2 separate regions of the Homo sapiens genome follow, and region 1 is linked to region 2. Evidence: promoter capture Hi-C in 16 types of primary human blood cells and fetal thymus (Javierre and others, 2016). All regions are on one chromosome and are shown on one strand. Each heading gives the region's core, a stretch centred on a gene start or on the middle of the fragment in contact. The rest is flanking DNA. Distances are from core to core; before and after follow the strand shown. Region 1 holds the start of OR51V1 (olfactory receptor family 51 subfamily V member 1). Region 2 holds the start of OR52H1 (olfactory receptor family 52 subfamily H member 1).

Region 1 (5,255 bases), core at 416-2,915, 350 kb before region 2:
AAATTAGACATGGTAGAAGTTGAATCCAAAGTCATATTTCTTTGTGTCCTCTTTATGAACTGTAGCTTCCCTGTCCAATATAGTGGCTGCTGAACTGAACTGTCCAATACAAGGACATTAAACATTTAAATATAAATTAACTTAAAGTAACTGAAATTGTAAATGCAGTTGTTCAATTACACTACCATCATTTCAAGCGCACAGGAGCCATATATTCCACTTTAGCCATTTTATGGTATTTTATAGAACATCGCCATCAGTTTAGAAAAGTTCCCTTGGACAATTCTGGTCCATACAGATATCACAACATTCCTGTGAGTTGGCTATAGTCTCCATTTTGAAGGTTAATTAAGTAAACCTCAGAGAATGAAAGAAACTTCAAGTTTTCTACTTTGAAACTTGAAAACCTAGGTTTTTAATCCAGCTTTGTTTTACAGCAAAGGAAATGCTCAAAAGTACATTTCAGGCAAATAAACAATTTTTTCCTCTTTCTTAAATATGGTCAGACTGATAGAGTGACCTACATGTGTCCAGGCTGACACAATGGAACTTGTTTGTTGATTCTCTGACTATATTTAAATATTTTTTAAGGTCATTTGTCATGGACTCAGAGTAAATCTACAATTTTAATAATTTTTTCTTTTTTATGGCACTGATTTTTGTTTATTATTGTTGCTGCTTTTCTTTCTTTTTTTTAGGCAATACATCTCAATATCTCTCAATATCTTTTCAGAGAAAAGAGTCTAAGCATTCTGGTATGAATCTGTTGGGTCTTGACACTGTAGATGATGGGATTCATTAAAGGTGGGAAAAGGATGTAGATGTTGCCAATGAGAACGTGGGCCACGGGGGAAAGGTGCTTGCCAAAACGGTGCACCATTGTGAGGCTAATGATAGGGATGTAGAACACAAGGACAGCACAGATGTGGGAGATGCAGGTCTGAAATAATTTATGCCTCTCTTCCTGAGAGGCAACTGCCAGGACTGACTTAAGAATCAGGATGTAGGAGAAAAGGATGAGTATAGCATCCAACAACAGTATGCAAATAACCAGCATCAGGGCATAGTAACTATTGAATCGGATGTCTGAACAGGCTAAGCGGAGAAGATCCTGGTGCAGGCAGAAAGAGTGAGAAAGGATGTGGAAATGACAGTAATTAAAAAATTTCAGACAGATGATGGGGGGTGTAATAAAGAAAAAACTCCTACCTATTATAGTGAGCCCAATTTTGATAATTCTGGAATTAGTCAGGATGGAGGAATAACGTAGTGGATTGCAAATTGCAATGTACCGGTCAAAGGCCATAGTGAGGAGGACAGAGGACTCCATGAAGGACAGACCATGGATGAAATAGGACTGGGCAATGCAGGAATCCAAGCTGATCTCTCGAATGATCCCCCACAGGATCCCCAGCACTGTGTACACAGTGGACAGCCCCATGCACAGGTCAGTGAGGGCCAGCATGGACAGGAAGTAAAACATAGGCTGGTGCAGGCTTGGCTCAGTCCATATCACATGGAGAACCATGCAATTGCCCAAAAGCACCATGGCATAGATTGAGGAGAAGGGGATGGAAAGCCAGGGGTATTGCTGCTCCATGCCAGAAAATCCAGTGAGAAGAAAGGAAGAATTCGTGCTGGTGCTAGGGCTTACTGAAGTAATCATTCTGGAACTGAGAAACATGTGAGAGTATTTTTTCAAAGGAAATGTTTCAATTTCACCTGAATACAATGAAATTTCTAAGTAAATGAAATACCCTAAAACTTACTGACTTAAAAAAAACAGCTGAGAAATTCTGTTTCTTTGAGACATAGTATCCATTGCCTTTGAGAAAATGGTCTTCTTTTGATGTCATTTAAAAGTCATTATTTTTTCACTGTCTGGATGTGAACATATCCTTAGAAGCCATAAGCAAAAACAAATAAGGAAGAGATTAGTAAAAGGAGAAGGCTAGTTTTAAAAAAATACGTTGCTTAGACATTTTCCCAAGGATAGTGGTAAAAATTTTATACCAGTAAAGAGCCGAGGTTCTTGAAAAATTATTTTCTTCTCTCCAATTCATTAAACATTCGAAGTGAAGAGTAATCTTTGGGCTTTAAATATCATAAGTCTATTAAATAGTCACTTTTCCGTCATTTTCCATTTTGTGCCGTCTCCAAGTATATTTTTTCTCCAAATACTATTTAATGAAGATACTCCTGTTTTCTCCCCCTCCAGATGACGTAGCCAGCAATTACTTTTTCTTCATTGGTGATAAGCAGACAGGAATATTTATGCATGAGACCTTGGGTAAATGATTTCTCACTGGAGCTCTGGCCTCTTGAGATGTTCAACTCATTTGTGCCTTTGTGATGTAGAGAATTAGATTGAAGACACTGAGCCTTTGATAGCAGCTCAGTGCTTCCCATTCCTTTATTTATTCAGTTAATGAGCTGATTAACTATTTATTCAATATACATTTATTCAATGTATTGGCCAATTGTGTTTTCTTTCTTAGAACCTGCAGTTCTACAGATCACAAAGCCAGGCTCAAACAAGCAAGCTTATAATTTCAAAAGCCTCATGGTAGCAGAATCAATTGGCTTCTTCTTTACATTGTTTGCCTGCTTTAAGTTCCAGACCTGAGAATCATCATAAGTTTTTTTAAAGCTCTAATAATGTAAACAGATGTTCAAAAGTCCATACTTTCATGTTTGATTGAGTAACTTCGAGATGTTAAAGTAACTTCAGATTTGGGCTGCCCTTTATGTCCTACTTTTCAGCTTTGTCTTATTAGCCTCACAACACAGTTCCACAGACTTTCTTCTCAATGTACTCTCTATACTACACTGACGTCTTCTAGCAGTCTAACCATTGTTTTTCTTGCCCTGACTCCTTCTCAGCATTGAATAACTTAGCTCACTATTTTTAATACTTTTTTCTCCATAGAATGCTTGAAGTTTCTTCGTTTCTTGCAGAGGATTTTTCAGTCTTTTGAATACGTATCTTCTTTCATTTCTCTAAATCGAATTTCTCTTCTTTCGTAAAATTTTTCTCGAAATGTTCTATCTGCCTAAATTATTCATCATCTTTTCCTCAATTTCTTCCTACCCTTTTTAAAACGATCTTGCAACTCAACAATCACTTTTCAAGAAGTTTCTTAAGACAAATTTATCCATATATCTATTATTTTGGTATCATGTTTCAATTTTAAATAAAACTTATAATTTTGTATTTATTAGCTAAATATTTAACTAATATTTAAACTAAATATTTAACTAATATCTCTGTTACAAACTAAATTCTCAGTTCCTTAATGTGCAGACTATGTCAACTTTTTCTTATTATTTGAAACTAACATTTGCACCTCTGATTCCTGACCACTCCTGAGAGCTCAAATTCATGAATACAACTGGCTATTTAATATATTCATCTGAGTGTTTAATCTTAAAATAAGAATGATGCCAATAAAGTACTTGATTTTCCCCCCAAAATCTATTTTCTGTCCCTTTTCTCCTAATATTATAAAGTGACTCCACCAATAACACAATTGCATAAGACAAGTCTTGAGTCATTTTTAAAATTTTTTATTTCTCTCTTTCCTTCCCTTTCCTCTCTCCATCAAATCTTTCATCAATTTCTACCATTTCTACCAGAAACACATCCCAGATAGGCCCACTTTTACACATTGCCCGTCTTGGTTTATAATATCATTGTTTCCCTGGCTACTATGATAATTTATTAAATTAATAATAATTTAATATTATTACTAGCTAATATCATGATTTATCTGTTTGTCCTCTAAAAAATGTATTATCTCCAGGGAAACCAAATTGCTTTTCTACAAACATCTACTAAATCACACAAACCTTTGTTGAAAAAACTCTTTGATGGTCACTTACCCATTGCTCGTAATGTAAAATACAAATTCTTTATCATAGTCAAAAAGCCTTGTATAACGTGGCTCACCTGCCTCTTCTATTACATCTTTAGACCACTACTGCCTACACTCCTTAATATTTAGGTATCTTTATCTTCCTCAAAACAAGCTAAGTACATGCATGTCTCAGGATCTTTGCCCATGGTCTTCTCTGTGCTCCGAATTATCTACCCCAAGTATTTGCACAGCAATTCCTTTCACCATTAACTTTTGAGTTAAAATGATTACTTCCTCAGGGGGATTTTTCTAATACTGCTCCCCACCTAGATTATCTCATTTCTTCAACCCCCTTAACTAACTTACTCTCATCACAGTATACTAGTTTATATTTATACCACTTATTATACACTGAATTTCCATTAGATTCATTAGAGGCTGTAGAAGATTAGGAACCATATCTGTTTTTTGCTCAAGAATATGAAAAATAAGGGTTAGCATAGAATGGGCACTTATCAAATAATTTTTAATTAATTATTCTATGAAATAAGAGCTAGACAATCACAGAGATATAAAGATAATATGAATGTGAACACTCCTATCAAAGTGTGTGTAAAATCATCTGTGTACACTTAGTCTTTTCTGACCTTTGGCCACCAATTGAGTCATCATATACCAAGTTTGAATGGTTTATAAAACAGATGCTGCTCCAGGGATCTTGCTGACCTTGAATACAACACTCCAATTTCAAACATGATTTCTCTCATTTCCAGCCTGACTCAGACATATCGTCAAGGATCTGGGATTGATCACAAAAGATTTAATATTCTGTGAATGTAGGTATGTGTTAAAAGTATCTACTTTCAGCCAGGCTTGGTGGCTCACGCCTGTAATCCTAGCACTTTGGGAGGCCGAGGCAGGTGGATTGGCTGAGCTCAGGAGTTGGAGACCAACCTGGGCAAAATGGTGAAACCCTGTCTCTACTAAAACACAAAAATAATTAGCTGGGCATGGCAGTGTGCTCCTGTAATCCCAGTTACTTGGGAGACTGAGGCAGGAGAATTGCTTGATCCTGGGAGGTGGAAGTTGCAGTGAGCCGAGATCGCGCCATTGCACTCCAGTCTGGGCGACAGAGCAAGACTCTGTCCCAAAGGAAAAAAAAAATCTATTTTCATGCAGGTTTCTTCAGACTGACTACAAAGGCTTCAGACTAGCTACAAAGCTTAAAAATCTACTTTCATTCAGGCTTCTTCAGACTAGATACAGAAGAAATGAGACCATCTAGATGGGGAACAGTATTATCCATGTTGCCACCATAGAGACTATCAGCCTTTTGGGATTACCAGAGCAAAATACATGTTGGAGGATTTTTTAAAATATGTTTTGAAAGGTAGGATG
Region 2 (5,456 bases), core at 1,475-3,974:
TTCCAGACTGGTTACACTCTTCCTTATACACTGTTCTCCCATACAAGTTAACAAAGTACAGAATACACTTTTTCATGGTGGATTATAGCTCATATGACCTTATGGACATCATTGTTTAGGATCTGCTTGCTCTGTCATTGTGAATTATCTGTCTCTGCCCCCAAGACAACTGTTTGCTTCTCTTAAAGCTACCTGATGACTGTGGCTCTTACATTTGTAAGATCAGCACCCCTTTATTGCCATCTAAAAACCTAATTCAGTTCAGCAAACACCAGATGAGTTCCTACACTATGCTGGATAACATGTGTAAGTCAGATTTAAACTAAAAAATTCCCTTATAGCTGAGGTTCACTAGCCTTTCTCCTCAAAAAAAAAAAAAAATTCAATAGTTTTCCAACACTTTATATACTACGTAAGTGAATAATATTCTAATACTGTGGACTTAGTGACACTATCAGTCAAGGTTTCTGTCCAAAAGAAGGACTGCTTTTTTGTGAACATACATCTATTAGAGAGACACATCGACCCAAGACACATACTCTCTCAAACACAGACCCTTAATACTTACATTCTCAGGCATATCCAGACCTACACTTACATTCTGTCATATATTTTGCCACCATATATTTACCCATACATAATCTTACACAATTACAAGCCCCCTGTCCTCCCATCTTCCCCCGACACATGTGCTGACAATATAAACAAAATGTTTCACAATTAGATTTTGTCACTGTCACAGGCTTTGTAAATTCCTAAAACCTCTCCACTGGTCCTATACCTTCTTCCCCAGTAATGCCTCTATAACAACTCACAGCACTCCCAACTTGTCTGAGGTCATCCTTTATTCATACATATGTGAGGAAAGGTTTTCTCAAGTTTTTGTATTTCCATGAACTCAAATACAACAGATGTTCATGAAGTCATCCAAAAGCATTCACAAACACACACGGGTGCACAGACGGTTAACTCTCTCATTTAACAATCAGACAAATCCACAATGTGGAAAAATCTACAACAATCTGTTTTCTTTTTTCAAGTCAATGCCATTAAAGGGGGAAGGGGAATATTAGATAAGGAAAATCCATTTCCAGATTAAAGTACATTTAAGAGAAAAACAAATAAATGCAGTGTGGTTATTTATTTATTTATTTTATTGAGACAGAGTCTCACTCTGTCACCCAGGCTGGAGTGCTGTGGCACGATCTCGGCTCACTGCAACCTCCGCCTCCCCGGTTCAAGCGATTCTCCTGCCTCAGCTTCCCGAGTTGCTGGGATTACAGGCGCCCGCCACCACCCCCAGCTAATTTTTGTATTTTCAGTAGAGACGGGCTTTCACCATGTTGGCCAGGCTGGTCTCGAACTCCTGACCTTAGGTGATCCACCCACCTCAGCCTCCCAAAGTGCTGGGATTACAGGCGTGAGCCACCACGCTCGGCCTGCAGTGTAGTTCTTGATTGAATTCTGTTTAAACAAACCAGGTATTGAATTCAATTAATGAATAGTTAGGGAAACTTAAATATGGACTAGGTATTGAGTGATATAAAGGAACTAGTGTTAATTTTATCAGCAATAATTATGGTATTATGGTAGATACACATACATACTCTCAGGCATCCACAGTATGTTAGCAAAATATTGGCACAGAGCATGTACTCTGGAGCCTCAGAAAGCTAGGTTTCACAATTTAATCCTGGTTCCACAATTTACTAGCTATGTGAATCTGGGCAAGCTATTTAAACTACATGATATTTGGGTTCCTATGTTTTTAAAAGAAATTAATATTTCTAATTTTTATAATTATTATTAGGACAAAATGATACACATTGAAAAAAGAATTTTTTTTTTGAGACAGAGTCTTGCACTGTTGCCCAGGATGGAGTGCAGTGGCACAATCTTGGCTCACTGCAACCTCCACCTCCATGGTTCAAGTGATTCTCCTGTCTCAGACTCCCGAGTAGCTGGGATTACAGGTGCCCGCCACTATGCCTGGCTAATTTCTTTGTATTTTTAGTAGAGACGGGTTTCACTATGTTGGCCAGGCTGGTCTTGAACTCCTGACCTTGTGATCCACCTGCCTCAGCCTCCCAAAGTGCTGGGATTATAGGCGTGAGCCACCACGCCCAGCCGAAAAATATTCTTTAATATAGTACCTGAAACATAGTAAGCATGTAACAAGTTTTACTTCTTTATATTAGGTTATATTTTATATCATTAGTATTATCATTAACAACCAGACCATGCAGTGGAAAAGAGAACAGAAATTGCAAGATGGATAAAAATTAACAGGAGCACCCCTGGGCATACACACATACCAGCACACTTAATTCTACATTTTAAGTTAGAGTTATGGACTCTTGTCACATGTCTGAAACAGAAATTTCCTAACACTGCTAACTGTGGTCATACTTAACGCAGCTGTGTAATTGTCCATCTGTTCTGATCTTTTGATGCTTAACTCAGTGGAGCATATACACAAGTACTGGAGATCAGGACCTCAGTTTATAAATGGGAGTTGCTCAGGAAAGAAAATTATAGTGCCCAGCCCATGGTCCCTAAGAAATAGAGCCCTGGCTTTTCACTCACTTTCTCTAAGTCTTGTCCCAATCAAACCCCTTCAAACAGCCAATACTCACCAAATCTTGGGGATCAGGCCAAAGGGAAAGAAGAAAGAGTGTGTTGACAAAATCTACAAGACAGCAGACACACCAACCAAAAAAAAACATGAGTGGAAGGAAAAGGAAGGACGTTAGAGAGGTTGATTCCCTGTCCATTTATTTTCTCTGATCACTCACTGCTCCTTGTGGGGAAAAGGTAGGTAGTTAGGGGATTAGAGACTCTGACATGCCCTCTTCTCACCCTCAAGGGAAGAAGATGAAAAAGATTCTATTAACCTTGTTCATGCCTTTGAGTTAACACTGCCTTAGAGTGCTTTATTTATTTATTTATTTGTAAGCTGATGTGTATGTGGGTGGAAAGCTGTGTGTATGTGCCTATCATATCACCCAGGTTTCAAGTTCATGCCCTCACTTACCAGATAAAGGACTTTGGATGAGTTACTTAATTTCCATTAAAAGGTGGTCATATTAGTACCTGTCTCTCAAGATTTTATAAGGATTGACAAATTAATAGGATACTGCTAGTGAAAATGCTTAACATATCGGCAAACTTATGGTGTAAAGGAATAACCTAGGGCACCTGTTAAGATGAAAATTATATGGCCCACATGAAATAATTCTAATATTATCTTTTAAAAATTCCAGTGGCTTTAGGGGTACAAGTGTTTTTTGATTACATGGGTGAATTGTATAAGGTTGAAGTCTGGGTTTCTAGCGTACCTGTCACCCATATTGCGTAGATTGTACTCAATAGGTGATGTTTCATCCCTCACCCCTCTCCTAGCTTCTCCTCTTCTGGGTCTCCAATGTCCATTATACTACTATGTGTGCCCTTGCATACCTATAGCTTATCTCCCACTTATAATTTTTAAAACATTAAACTTCATTAAACATTTTTATTGGTAAAAACAATATGAGCAAATAAAATATATTCTTATGGAGAAACTGTTAGGTCTACCAGCTGGTACTGTCAGGAATTTCTGCAAGTCCAGATATCAATTTTTACCTAAGAGGCTTTTACCCAACAATTCTGAAAGCCAAGTCAGTTTTTGTCAATGTTTGTCAAACGTTTGCTAAATATTGTTGAATGTGTTAATTAATAAAGATTGCCAGGAGTCCACTCAGTACTCTGAATGTTCTAGAATATCTGGAATAAACCAGAACTAATGAGATTAGTATTGTATTGGCTCCCAACAGAATTTTTACCTTTCGCTGAATAAAAATTGAGGTTGCTTCACCTCTCTATACTAGGATAAGGGACTGAAGAGTCACATGAACTTGTGTATTCTGTAAGAATGTGATTAATTGCATCACTTACTGCCTATTCTTTAAGAGCTTTCTAAAGATATTTCTCCATTCTTCATATAAGAAGTAGTTTTGCTTCTCTAACAATTAACTGTCTGTAACTTATAGCCATCATGAATTATGTAGCTAATCATGTTTAACTCTCACATAGACTGTTAGAAAGCTTACAGCTCAATTTCTGACCCACATATAATAAGAGAACAAAAATTCATAGCAGGTGGAAAGTGTATTTTCGGCCTATTTTTTGTCTTAATTTTTAAAAATCTTTCTACTTTTCTTTTTGCCTTTTCTATTTATACTTTGTAATATGCCACATAACAATGTTTCTGAACAATTGTCCCATAAGATTACAATACCATATTTTAGAGTACCTTGTCTATGTTTAGACATGTTTAGATGCACAAATACCATTATATTATACTTCCCTACAATATTCGGTATAGTAACATGATGTACAGTTTTGTAGCCTAGGAGCTATAGAATATAATAGAGAGCCAAGGCTGTATCACACAGGTTTGTGTAAGTACACTCTATGATATTTGCACAATAATAAAATCATCTAACAACACATTTATGAGACTCTATCCTCATTGTTAAGTGGGACCTGACTATATTTTTATTTATGGTATGCAAAATACATCAAGTAATTTTGGAAACAATGCATGTAGCTATTGTCACATGTTAAGAGATAGACTATAAATTCAAACACAATTCTCCGAGTCCAAAGGACATTCTTTTCTATTAAAACTATATGTTGAGAGCCATTGTAGAAATAAAAATTCAATGACATGTGAAAAGGGTAGTAGCACGGGGATGGGAAAGTAGTCTCAAGGTAAAGAGACCATGAACAACTCTGATATTTTGAGTCAAGTGAAAGCAGTGAGGGTTTGAACTACTGGGGTAGGGGAGGAGGGTGCCTGCACTCAGCCGGGGAATCCAAGAGGTTATTTAGAAAAAAACCACAGGTTTTGAGGACGTATCAGATTTGAAAGGGAAATAAGACATTGATTATCATTGCTGCCTGGCAGACACCTAAAAATAAGTATTACTGACCAAGTGACTGAATGACTCACTATGACCAAGTTATGCATACTGGATTTGAAGAGACAATGAATCATACAGAGGTACATTTTTGGCTTGTGACTACATCTCTATGGAGATACAAACATGAAAAAAATTGAGACCACCAATGCTTCCAATTGGTCAAGTCTTAAACCCACTTCTTAGTCTGTACGTGCTTTACCATTTTACTAGCCATAGGAATTTGCCTTCCTCCTTTTATTCCTTGTGGAAAACTCCACCCACCCACAACTCATTTGGCTTTCTCAAGGTTGAGTTAAACATTGAGTTTTATCATTGCCTTATCCCTTTGCTTAATATAAACACCTGCACTCTTAAATTAATAATTTTATGATTATTTGCCATTTATTTATTTGATAAATGTTGCCTATGTCCCTAGTGTGTGCTAGGTATTATACTTGATGTTGTTTAGAAATTAATAGGAGTGAACAAAGTAAAAACCCAGAACCCTGC

What was found. The method cuts DNA at HindIII sites, captures the fragments that hold promoters and counts their contacts. A CHiCAGO score of 5 or more calls a contact.
Region 1: the fragment with the promoter of OR51V1 here is called in contact with the fragment with the promoter of OR52H1 in region 2 in 1 of 17 cell types (megakaryocytes); the score reaches 5.5 in megakaryocytes.

The regions. Positions count from the first base shown.
Region 1 is chr11:5,199,017-5,204,271 of GRCh38, forward strand. OR51V1 (olfactory receptor family 51 subfamily V member 1) reads right to left here and starts at 1,666. Exons shown (of 1, transcript NM_001004760.3): 1 at 719-1,666. The coding sequence starts at 1,666. The coding sequence ends at 719. The HindIII fragment of the contact is 3,813 bases long and covers 1-2,541 here.
Region 2 is chr11:5,545,816-5,551,271 of GRCh38, forward strand. OR52H1 (olfactory receptor family 52 subfamily H member 1) reads right to left here and starts at 2,725. Exons shown (of 2, transcript NM_001005289.5): 1 at 2,637-2,725. The HindIII fragment of the contact is 4,857 bases long and covers 1-4,084 here.